Regions from separate parts of the Homo sapiens genome. Here region 1 is linked to region 2. Evidence: promoter capture Hi-C in 16 types of primary human blood cells and fetal thymus (Javierre and others, 2016). All regions are on one chromosome and are shown on one strand. Each heading gives the region's core, a stretch centred on a gene start or on the middle of the fragment in contact. The rest is flanking DNA. Distances are from core to core; before and after follow the strand shown. Region 1 has its middle 99 kb from the start of FMR1-AS1. Region 2 holds the start of SLITRK2 (SLIT and NTRK like family member 2).

Region 1 (6,838 bases), core at 320-2,819, 2.0 Mb after region 2:
GATGGAATCCCAATTTTCAGTAAAAAGCAAATGGAGTTTAATAGTGGTGTCTCTCTCTGTCTCTCCATCTCTCTCTCTCCCCCCATTTTTAGAAAAAATCTATTTATATTACTTGTCAAAATATAAACTTCCTTGCATAAAACATGGTTGCCAAAGTCTAAAATTTGTTTTCCAATATCAAAAGTTTTGATTCAAACAGCCTAAAATATGAGATGACAACATTGGGAACACAATTGATTAATTGATTTTAAAATTTGGCAACAAAGCAGCAAAATCTTAGAAGCTCTAAAGATCTTTACAATGGACCTTTAGAAGTTATCTGATTCAACTCATATGGTGACTGGATTCCAACTACTTTATCCCAAACTTGGGGTCAGCTTGCTTCCTCATGAGCAACACTCCAGTAATGGGGAAAGCAGTACACTCTGGGACAACCCAGTTGATTAGTGGCAAATGCAGATTGTCATAAAGTTCTTAATTAAACTCAATTACAAAATCAGAACAGTATTATAAGTAGAAAATGTTGCACAAGGGAAACAATAAAGATGTTTATTACAATTCGAAATACATAAATTCCCAAACTTTCTCTAAATGATAATGTTTTTTTTTTACTATTACCAAAAGAAATCTATGGTGATAATATTATTCAAAGTTTTGAGCTACATGGAAAGTGAATATGATAACAGAAAATGTCAAGCGGTTCTAGTTAAATACACTAAGATTAAACGGTGATATGGTCTGGCTCTGCGGCCCCACCAAAATCTCATCTTGAATTGTAACCCTAATTGTAATCCTCACATGTTGGGGGAGGGACCTGGTGGGAGGTGACTGGATCATGGGGGTGGTTCTCATGATAGTGTATGAGTTCTCATGAGATCTGATGGCTTTGTAAGGGACTCTTCCCCCTTTGCTCTGCACTTCTCTCCCCTGCTGCCTTGTGAAGAAAAACATGTTGCTTCCCCTTCCACCATGATTGTAAGTTTCCTGAGGCTTCCTCAGCCAGGCAGAACTGTGAGTCAATGAAACCTCTTTCCTTTTAAATTACCCAGTCTCGGGCAGTTATTTATAGTAAGGTGAGAATGGACTAATACAAATGGGATGGTGTCTCTGAATTCACTACAGAAGAAGACACAAAACTCCTCTGGTTAACAACAGCCTTACTATTTAGTCCCTTGACTTTAACCCCTTCTACATCTTCTAGAAATTTCCCTGCCAATTATCCCATCATTCATTTGTTCAACCCATATTTGTTGAATACCTAAATATGTGCTAGGCATGCTTGTAGTCACCAATGATGTATCAGTGAACAAAACAGACTTTCTAGTGGTATTTTAATCTCATTCTTTTTCACCTGTTGACTCCACATCTGTATCTAGCTTCCACCTGACCTGCTTTTCTTTGAAATCTCAAGAGTTCTTCACACTCACTGCCTCCAAGTCTTCACTTTTCATTTATTCCCCAACCCACTCCTGTCTGCGTATATACTCACTCTTCCTCTTAAACTGCTCTTCCTCCCTCTGTTCACCAATGATTTCATAATTTCCAAACCTAACAGACTTGATCTCTCAACTGCATTTGATGCTGTTCATGGCTTCCCACTTTTTAAAACCCTTAACTCCCTTGCTTTCATGACACGCATCTCTGCTGGTTCTCTTTTTTAAAATCTCCTTTTCCTCTGCCTACTCCTTAAATGTTGATAAATCTCAAGGTTTAACTCTTAGCCAAATGCTCTTCTCACTTTCCACATATTTTCAGGATGATCTCATCCCCTCTTTTGCATTTAACTACTAGGTCAGACCTTTCCTATCTTCAAACCCATTTGCCCAACTGTCTGCTGGACCTCTCTACCTGGATGTCTCACAGGCACTCTCATTACAAATATTCATAATATTCCCCCTAAAAGGTCCCCTCTTTGTTTTCCCAATTTTCATGAATACCGTCACTATTCACCTACATACTCACAGTACAGACTAAGTCTTTGCCTAGGACCGTCCCATTCTTTCAACTTCCAACTCTAACTAGTCAAGTACTAGTGATTTTGCCTTTGAAATTATTCCACAATCTGCACACTCTTCTCAATCCCTGGTACCACTGTTTATTTCATGCCCTCGCCATTGCTTACATGTACTGCTACTGTCCCCTTGTTAGCGTCAATAACCTCTAGCCAAGGACTCCAGAAACGCATCTATAGTTAAACAAGTTGGGTTTATTACTCATTGCAGTGAGGGAGAGCACACACCGTGGAGAAGCATAGGTTATCTTAGTAAGAAGAAGTTAAAAGAACCAGTTATAAGATTTGGGCTTTAGTTGGTCTAAGGAGCAAGACCTCACCTTGGATTGGATACTATCAAGAAATGGGAGCAATTTTATCATTGGGTATCTCAATAAATCTTATCTATATGGAGGACATACTAGAGCAGTGATAAATCTGTAATTGGTAAAGAAGTAACAATCACTCATTTCAGCAGAGAGAGGAAGATATTTGATATATTGTGGGGGGCAGAGTGACCTTGGTTTTGTCTGTGCTGAGACAAAATATGAAGTGGTCTTGTTTTGTTTCACTATATCATGGCCTCAGAGTAACTGTGTGGGGTGTTGGGGTTCTGTGGGGTTTTAAAATGTCCAACAGGAGAATAACATGGCCTAGCTGTGAGTGCTAAGCCAGTTTCTAGATATCAGGGGTTGCGTTTTAATTTTTTTTCTATCTCATTGGTATCTCTGTTTTAATTCTTGTCCTTTTCTGATTCACCTTCCACACTTCAGCCAAGAGAACCCCAGCTAAACCACAAATGATTTTATCATGTCAAAATTTTTTCATGAAGTCTCTGCTTAACCCCTCGTCCAGGTGCAACCCCTGCTTCCTTTGAAAGAGCATGTTGTCACTGCCATCCTGAAGGCACATATATTTTGCTTTGTTACATTGTGATTATGTTTGACTCAGTGCACTCCTTCTAAGTTCTCAATATGATGAAAGACATCTGTCAGTTACTGCCTGAAAGTCACACCAGTTTGGTTGAGATCATGAGAATGCAGGCTATAGTTGTACCACTTATAAATCACCATAAATTTTAAAGACTGATGTATTCAGATCAAAGACCAGTAGATGGTGTTAAATCATCATCAAAGGCATTTTTGCTTATTAAGTGCACATTTCACATGATGCTAAGAGAAAAATTAATCAGATTGAGCCAGAAAACTCATCTCTATCTTCTGGAAATCCACAGCATATTCAAGGATAAGAAATCTAGACCAAGACACACATATTACGAGTAGGAATTCAGCAAATAAAATATTAAAATTATGCATTATGTTATGTTCACACTGAGGAAATAATGAGTAAAGAGTAGTGGCAGGGAAATTAAAAAATACAAGCCTTTTGTATCGGAGGACAAGTAACCATCAACCTACCTTTTTTCTTTTAAGGAGTGATGAGACCTTTGTTAACATCCAGCAGACAGGCCAGTGTTTGGGACCAACAGGCCAATGGTCCAGTGTTCAGGCAGGCAACAAGGGAAATGTGGGCAGGTGAGCATGGGCCAGGCAGGTAGGCAGCCAGCAAGCAAGAGAGGTGCAGCTGGAGGCTTCCCTGTGAGAGCTGAGGAATCCCTTCAGAACTCCATGTCCACCATGTGGGAAAATGGCCTGCCTGAGTCAGGCTGGCCTTTTTTTGTAACTGGATATCATATAATGCAAATATAGAAGAGGATCACGAGTTTGTGGATCCACTCCTTCCAGACTAAGGAAGAATTGTTGTTTGATGGCATCCTCTGCAGTTGATCCTCAAACTGCAGCAGCTTGGTGAGGAGGTTGGCCTTGTCACTGTCAAATTGGAGTGAACAGCTCAAAAAGGCCCTGGATCACAGAAATTTCAGAAGACAGTATCAAAGAAAATGATCAAATGGTAGAAAATAGATTCAATTGGATTCAATAAATATAGATCCTCTATCGTGTCCATGGCACTGTATTATGTTCTAAAAAAAATGTAATAAGAAAGGCAAAGTTCTGGTCCTCCAGGAGTTTACAATCTACTAGAAGGAGTATGACAAGCACACCAACAGCCGCCAGACAAAGTTTGATACAATGCATGTCAGCTAAGAGGTAAGGGCGAAATCTTGTAGGAATTTGAAAGGAAGAGAAAGTACATCCAGTTGGGGAAGTTAGAAGAAAGATTTTTAGGAAAGCATTCTTTTTAAACTAAGCTTTAGAACAATTCCAGTATCCAATACAGTTCTGAAACTCAGGAAGAAAGTTTTATTTAGTTTTTAAGTCACAGTCATAGGATGGAAAAAACCTCATCTCAGGGGAAAACAGATTAGTATAGAGGATTAAACCCTGAAGAACATCTACACGTAAGTGGTGGGCAGGGGAAAAAAGAGCCATTGAATGAGACTAACGAGAAATGTTAAGCAAAGTAGAAGGATATCTGCCATCATGGATGTCAAAGAAGGAGAAAATTTCAAGCTGCATGAAGGTTTAGAGAAATGGAGACTGAAAAGAGGCCACTAGATTTGGTAACCAGGAGGTCCATGATAACCTTGGTGAGTGCTTCACTGAAGTGAATTGACAAGTGAATAGAACATGGATACAGTGAATAGATTTCTCTTTGAAAAGAAAGAGCAGCTTGAAAGAGAGAGAAGGTTGAGTAAAGAGTTCATTTTTATGCTCATAGTTGTAAGATTAGGAGAGAAAGAAGATCATTGCCAGGGAAATATGCCAACGAGGCAGGAAGAGATGGAATTCAAATGATACTTGGATAAGATAACCTCAGAGAGAAGGAAGAACAGACATTATAAGAATGTAGGGATATAAGTAAGTGTAGAAAAAGCAAGAGAGTGAAATAGGGGAAGCTCATCCCTAATCGTCTCTATTGTCTCTAATCTCTATGATACAAAGGGATCAGGAATCAGCATAACTCTGGGGTCCATAAATCTTGGATTCTAGCCCAAGTTTAACCAGTTGTTACCTCCATGACCTTGAGTATATTATTTACTCTCTGAGTATATTAGTTAGGGTTCTCCAAAGAGACAAAATCAATAAGAGATCTATCTATTTATCTCTAGAGAGAGAGAGAGAGAGAGAAGAGGAGGTTTATCAGGGGAATTGGCTCATGTGATTATGGAGGCTGAGAAGTCTCGGAACAGGCCATCTGCAAGCTGAAGACCCTGGGGTGCTGGTAGTCGTCTCAGTGCAAGTGCAAAGTCCTCAGAATCAGGGAAGCCAATGGTATACCTCTCAGTCCAAAGTCAAACCTGGGGGACCACTCGTGTAAGTCCTGGAGTTCAAAGGCTAGGCAGACTGGAGTTGTTGTCCAAGGACAGGAGAGGAAGAGTGTATCCCCATTCCCACAGGAAGATCAACACATTCACCTTTTCTGTTTTTGTTGTCTCCATGCCCCCAGCAGAGAGGACAGTACCCACTCACATTGAGAGCAGAGCTTCCCTATCTAGTTCACTCAGACTCACAGGCTAATCTCCTCTGAAAACGTGCTGGTAGAGACCCCCAAAAATAATGATTTACCAGGTTCCTAGGTATTCCTTAATCCAGTTAAGTTGACACCTAAAACAATTGAGAAAACAATTATTTCCTTGCAGCAATGTTTCCATAATAATGATGTAAAGGAAATTGCAGAGGGCCTGGCATATAGTACATATATAATAAATGATAGCTATTATTACTATCATTATTTGCAGCATAAGAACAAAAAAAATTTAATTTTAATTTTCTAGTACATAAAATGGGGAGAATAATAGCTATCACACAGGTTTCCTGGGAAAATAATGATTTGTGTGAAACTCAAGTCAGTCTTCTCCCTTGCAAGGATCACCTTCTTCTAGTATATACTGAAAGAGGGATTCTCTCACATCTGCTTCTGAATTTCCCACCTTGCAGCAGCTCTTTCCTGCCAAACCATGGGCCATTTCTTTTTTAGATGTTCACTACCTCTAGAAATGCTTGGATACTGTCACCCACTATATACCATGTTGCTCCCTACAAATGGGTATCATCGGGGGGTCAATGTGTGGTAATTCACATTTCTTTTTACCACTCTATTCCTTTACTCCTCATATCTCCACCACCCAAGGTAGTGGAGGTGAGTCTTTACTGAGGAGTTGAGAGTAACTAAAGAGAATTCCAACATGGAAGGGTAAAGATCTAAAACTATGCTCTTCATATGACTGTTTCCATAGCCCAAGAGACAAGCACTACAAATAATTAGCTTCTTCAAAGAGTTCCCATTTTAAGTATTTCCAGCTCCTAGCCTTCCTACTTGCTCCATGGACCCATCCTCCTGGACCTTCAGCACCACGGTCTGGGTGGCCTTTTGTTCTCCAAACTTGGTCCCTCCAATCCCCACCAAGATCTTCCTGCCCATGAAAAAATTAGAATGAGGAATCATTCTGGACATCCAGAAGATAAAAGAAAACCAAATACACACTACTCACCTCTCCAATCCCCAAAAACCCACATGCTACACTCATCATATTCAATTATTTGAAGTTGCTCTATATGTACGTGTATGTATGCATGCATACCTATCCTGCCTAATTTCTTGCCTTTAACCTCATCTTTACACCTGTGTTTACATTTGCCTTTCTGGCTCCTCTCCATATGATACTTCAACCACACTGAATTATTTAAAGGACTTCAATATAATATATTTCCTATTGCTTCCAAGACTTTTTAAAATGTGGTCCTTTCACACAGAATCCTGATTAGAAAGAGTTCAAGGGGGAAGAGAGGGAAAAGCCGTAGGGAAGCCAACACTGCCATATATTGCTAGTAGGATACATAATAGGACAACTTCTATAAAGGGCTATCTCTGCCATATTTCAGTATT
Region 2 (6,241 bases), core at 1,136-3,635:
AGAAGAATAATGTGATTTTTATTAATGAACAGAAGTACATTAATATGGTGTCTCTAGTATTCAATTCTATTTGGAAATTTTCCTCTAACACAGAAGCTTTTAGAAAATTCAGCATAAAGCAGCTTTCAAATAAATTGGCATATTTAAATTTTTCACAGACTTCAAACTCTCCTCCATTATAACTGTCTATGCAAAACCCTCTCAGAAAGTTTTATATTGCTCATCAATTTTCGTGTCTGTGCATTCAAAGCACAGCTATCCACCTACTTGAAAATTTTATGCTGACAAAAAGAAAAGTCTGCTCTTTTTAATTTTGTCTTACTATCAGTGTGGTCCCATGTGGAAAGGCAGGCTGCTAAATGCTTTTCGAAGGCTGGTGAACAGGTTAGACTTGCTTACAAGGCTAATTAAAATTGATGCATGCCATCTATTACATGTTACTACTGGATCTAAATAAAGTATCACTTTTCATCATTAATGCCATGTTCCTTCTCTACTCTGTATAGAAGTTTTTGCTTATTTTGTATGTTCCCTTTGGCTACAGACACATCACCCTTCTTAGTAAACTGTCTGAGTTTTTCAGCATGACTGTCTCATTATTTCTGTATTGGAATGGCCTCTTAGCTCTGTGTTTTGCAGTTGTTTATAACATCTACTAAAAGCGACATGAAAAGATGACACAGTCAGAAATACGGTAAAGACAGAAGTAACAGTATTAACTGACCTCATTTAGTTAATAATATGATGTGCTCAGTGCACTGCTTTTAGTCTGTAGCAAACAGCACATTGGATGTTTACACTAATACAGATATTGTAAAAAGAAGAGCAATGCTTCTGGATATATAACCGTACATACACTGCCCACGTGCTTATGTGAGAACTATGTTATTCCGAAGTTGCTTATCTGAATGGTAGGAAGATTTCAAAAAGGCTTTCTCAAGAATGAAATAAAAGGAACAGTAATGACCCTTACAACTCCGAAGATACGATTATAATTCTTCCGACTATTATTAAAGCAAACTCTGTACATCTTCATAATATAAGATTGCCAGTAGTTTTCTTTTTAAAAAGCCCAGCATAATCTCCTTAGAAAACCATTATGAAAGAAAGCCAAGAAGAGAGGACAGGAGAAGCACAAAAGATTCCCACGGGAAGGACAAGAAAAAGGTGGTTGTCAGTGCTGTGAGAACGAGTTGAAAGGCATGGGAAATATGGAAACAGACAAATTCCAATGCAGATCCACTAGCTGGAGAGGTAATTTTGCGTCTAATTTTGCACCTCTCTCCTCGCCTCCCCGTCTGCTCTCCACCATCACGCTTTTCGACAGTAAGAAGGATTTGGGGTTTTGCAGACTCTAGCGGGCATGAAAAGGATAGGGGGTGGCAACGACTTGAATTAATGACGTTCTCCTACAGGATGGAGGGGAAAATGACTTAGTGTCATCAAATGAACTCCCTACTCCTGGCATAAATTTATCAAACTGCAACTTTATCTCGAATACTCTGGAAGAGTAGAGGAGAGGCCCTAGAGAAAGCAAGTCTTGAGGGGAAACGCAATGCTCTTGGCAAAAACCGCACCTCCCTCTTGAACTACACTGACTCTTTTCACAGAGCGCCTTCCTTTAATAGAATCACAACCACCTGGACTACTAATAAGAGGAAGAAGAAAGGAGAAAAGGGAAGGGAGGATGGCAAAAATCACGCTCTAGAAGATCCAGGCAACGTCGTCGTGAAGAATAAAGGGAATCAAAATGGGCACTGGAACGCTGCTAAGGGCTTGCTTTGTTAACACACTTGCACAACTCAAGTTCAGCTCTATCTTATGTTGAAAGTCCTTGTTTACGATCCTCGTAGGAGGTTCTTAAATATCTGCCTGCGAACTCCCAAAGACTGGGCGCTTACTAGTTAGGGGAGGCAGCTGTCCCGGAGGGTGTCCAGCTCGGATGGCTGACTGCTCTTTCACTTGTCGTTAACTTCCACCCAGTAGTCTTAGTCTCCCCTTGGACATGGTACCGACCGTGTGCCATTCTTATTTCACTTGACCGAGCCCGAGCTGCAGCCCAGGGTGGAAGCCGCAAGGGCTGGGCAGAGTTCCAGGCAAGAGGGACCGAGAGGCGTGAGCAGTGCTCCGCAGCGCTTGTCAGAGAAATGGAGCAGCGGCTCCTTTGTGGGCTCTTACATCCCCGTCCTGGGTGCACAGCCCGGATATTTGATCTGTGGGGTGATTGATAAGTGAGGGAGAGGGGGGACGCGATCCCTCCCTCCCTCCTCCCTCCCTCCTCCCTCCTCACTCCCTCCTCCCTCCTCCCTCCCTCCTCCCTCCTCCCTCCCTTCTTCCCCTCTCCTCCCTCCCGCTTTACTTCCCTCCTCCCTCTCGCCTCCCTCCCTCCTTCCTGCAAGAAGCGTTGCCCGTTGGCTAGCTGCTCGGTGGGGATCTGCCTGCCCTGGGGGCGCCGCCCGCGCTCCCCGCGGTGCTCTCGCTCCTGGGCTGCGCCAGTCCGAGGCGGTGCCGGCTCCTTTGCCTCCCCGAGTCGCAGATGCTGCGGGCGCCTCCGGGAAAAGATCTGGGCGGCGCGCTCGCTCGGTAAGTTCTGAGCACTCAGGGACGCGGTGGCGACGCGGCCAGTGAGCCGGCTTTCCTCAGTCCGTTGCCTTTCCCGGCCACCTCTCCTTGCGAGGGGCACCAGCGTGGGGAGGCTGGGCGCCATCCGCGGAGGGCAGCTCGCTGGCGGCCGCCCTCTACCCTCAATCCCCACTGGAGATTCCTCACCCCGGGACCGTCCGCGCGGGCGTGGTCGGGCTCCGCGCCTCGCGCAGCGGGGTGGCACAGGCGGCCAGGGAGGGCCCACGCACCCGGCGCGAGCTAGAAGCCTCCGGTCGGCCTGCAGTGCCCAAGTCCCATGGCGAGGGCAGCCCGAGTGGCCGTCGCGGCTGTAGGTCCGCATGCCGGGCACCGCACCAGGCGTCTAGCAGGTAGGGGCAGGGAAGGTAGGGCTGCGCTGGCGGCCGGTGCCCAGTTACCGGCGATCGGGGACGCTCGGAGACACCTGGTCTCCCGGAAGCGCCCTTCGGAAATGGGATTCGACCCGGCTTGCGGGCGGCGGGTGTTTAGAAGAAGAGGCTGCGGGCAAGCAGTGCCCCCTCTCTGGTTCCCCGGACTCCTCTTAGCCCCCTCGTGGCCTGATGGGCGGCCGGGACGGAGGTGGGCTGTAAGCCCGCCGGCACCCACCGTGTCCTGTGGAAGGCTTGGAGACCTGAGCCAGGCTCTACTCGGTTAGATGCGAGTGAGACAGGCGACGGAGTTCGTCTTTAAGCCTCCCTTGCCTCAGCAAGGAGAGGGAGCGTTTTCCTTATTTTAATGACCGCCTTTCCCTCCCTTGGGGTCCCAGTTCACCCTGAACCTTTCCACAGCCTTAAAAGCCCGCTCTCCCTAGCGGAGTGCTGCGGCAGTTCTTCAGAAGACACGGGGCCAAATGAAACTTACTTAAAGTGGTTATCGCGTTTCAGGCTGATTTGTTCCTAGTAACTACGTTTTGGAAAGCAGCTGTGGACTCTCAAGGACAGGCAGGAACGAAGACCTCCTTAGGGTCCGAGTGTCGCTTCCCACAGTTAGATTACCCATGAATTTCCTTGATTCTGTAGGTCTCAAGAATCTCATGAGCCCCCAACCACCTCCACCTTTCTCTCTGAATCTCTCTCCTGTCTCTGAAATTCTTCGCAAAAATAATCTGTCCTCAAGGAATATTGAAAGCGTCATCAATGTCTTGAAGGAAATTACTGTATCTGAGAACCGAAACTAGTATTTGATGTTTCACTTTCAAATACATTTTTTTTTAATAAAAAGGATACCTTTAAGTAAAACACTACCACTGCTATTTACGTTTAAGTAGATTTTTAATTCATATTAAGCAGTAGTGTGCTTTTTGGAAAGATGATGGACTGGGACTCATAATCCCTGGGTTTTGTTTCTATTTGTAGTTTCTTGAGTAAGTCAGCACTTTCCCTGGTTAAGAAATGACCTCATCTGTAAAATGAACCTGACTTCTAAGGTCTTGTTCGGCTCTCACGTCTTTACTTCAGTTAAATATTGACATAATACATGTTTGTTGAATGAATGACTGAATGAATAAATCTTATTGCTCTAGGAACTATGTGCTTTTAACCTTTGGAAATACATAGAAACAAATGCCTCCTTTGCTAGGAAAGGGAGCTTAATTGTGCTCCCACTGCATCAGACTGCTTCCATCTAATGATGCAATTGCAATACAGGGTGGGAGGCCATCCACAGGGCTGTCCCTCTGCCTCAGAGCTCATCTCAAGTTTGCCCTTCTCTATGGAGAAGGAAAATTTGAGTCTCCAGAAGGAAAGTATTTTGCTAAACGCCAAGCAAGAATTAGAGGGTAAGGGGGCTTCTGATGCCTGGTCCAAGGCTCTTAGAAGAAGAAGAAGGAGAAAGGGAGAAAGCTCAAGAAAATAATGCACAGATCACCAGCTACAGGTGGCCCTAGTGCCTAAGTTTATAAACTACCCCCGCCCTTCCCGGAGAGAAAGGAGCTTGTATAAAGGGAACAATCCTAGAACCTAGGCTTAACAAGGAAGGAGAAGGGGAGAAGCAAGGGTCATTCTGTTCTCAAGTGGTTTGTTGTATCTGTGTGTTTATCTATTCCACATTTGGCCAGGCAGTGGGACTCCGGGAAAGCAAGCTGAAGTGTTTTGTGGGACAGGCACATCATTTGGTCAACTCCTTTTCCCTGGTTGATTCCCTCCTTTTCCTGACCCATCTCCCCCTTCCTACCAGAGGCAACCAAGGCCTTTCCAGGCAACAGCAGACATTATTTACCCCTTGCGAATTGATTCCACAATGGAAGACTCTTGGGTCCAAGGAGCTGTAAGATAATTAAGGAGAAAACAGATAATGAAGGCAAAAATCCAACACCTGGCCATTAGCAATGCTCTGGAAAGGCTATTTAAACCCGCATTGGATATCAGAGCTGGGAGGGCCCATACAGTCTACCTACCTGCCTTTTGCAGATGGACACAGGAAGATCCAGAAGCTAGTGGCACATCTAGCAACAGAGCCAGATCAGAACCCAGGTAAGCTCGGTCTCAGGCCAGGATTCCTTTTCCATCTCCTCTCTTTCTCAGGAGCCAGTCTTCCTGCACCAGCTTCCTCTTTTCTCCTAGCTCCCCTGCCCCTGCAGCCTGGAGGGCTCAACCACCCTTCCTTTGGCTCCCACTCCCAGCTGAGGCTCAGCCTGGCAGTGCTTTTCTGACACCCACTTCTTTTCTCCTTCCTCCAGGCAAGAAGTGCACGTTTAAACCTCATTATCTGGCTAAGTATAAACCTCAGGGAGAAAAGGGGTTTGTTTTTGTTTTTCTCAGTCTATAAGCTAACATTGAGCTGACTTTCAGAGTCCAGGCAAATATGTTTGGTGGGTCACCACCCAGAAAGGAATTCTCTTAGCACTGAATCAGGGCTCTGTATGTAAAGTATAAATCCCCTAAGAGAACTCCTCACCCTCCTACACAGACACATTGGTGCATGCACACACACCCCACTCTCTGCACAGAGAGCATCTGAGCTAGGAGCTGGCAAGTGGGGCACCAGTCCTGTAGCAAAGAGGCACACCACACACACACACACACACACACACACACACTCTCTCTCTCTCTCTCTCTCACTCACACACACACACACACACACACACACACGCTTCTCCCTTGCTTGGGAATCTGGGAGAAGAACCCCCCACCCCCACCCCTGCCCTCCATAGGCATTGTGTAGGTGAGAGAAAGAGGGAGGAGTGAGAGAGAACACACAGAGGGGCCCAAGGAGGTGCCAGGCCATTAGCAGGGCCCCTCCTTGAGAAACCCCTCTGCAGGAGCTTCTCCTGCCGCCAGCCAGGTTGGAGGTGGAGTAGTTCAGAATCAACTGACGCAGCCGGGAATTGAGCTTTGCAAAGCCACTTGCAAGGAAGGGAAGCATCTGCCCAACCCTCCCCCACCGCGCGCCCTGGATCCTCTGCCTGCCCCCTCCCCCGTGACGTCACCCTAGTCCTGTCCCGGGGAGCCTGCAAAGCCTCTCAGATTCAAACTGCTAGACGCACTGCTGCCACCGCCACCGAATTGGAAACGCGCGCCCAGGCTCCGTCGTCGCCTTCGCCCGCCGACCGGGCCAGCCGGCTCTCCGACCTCCCTACAGAATCGCACCCCAGTCCCTCCCTGGCAGCTCGGCTTCCCTC

What was found. Contacts are between HindIII fragments. The CHiCAGO score rates a contact against its expected background, and 5 or more counts as called.
Region 1: a fragment that was not itself captured here is called in contact with the fragment with the promoter of SLITRK2 in region 2 in 1 of 17 cell types (M0 macrophages); the score reaches 6.3 in M0 macrophages.

What each region holds. Positions count from the first base shown.
Region 1 is chrX:147,809,125-147,815,962 of GRCh38, forward strand. No RefSeq gene overlaps it. Among named protein-coding and RNA genes, the nearest start is that of FMR1-AS1, 99 kb to the right of the region's middle. The HindIII fragment of the contact is 5,256 bases long and covers 1-4,197 here.
Region 2 is chrX:145,815,444-145,821,684 of GRCh38, forward strand. SLITRK2 (SLIT and NTRK like family member 2) reads left to right here and starts at 2,386. Exons shown (of 5, transcript NM_032539.5): 1 at 2,386-2,583; 2 at 5,031-5,093; 3 at 5,905-6,241. The HindIII fragment of the contact is 7,249 bases long and covers 95-6,241 here.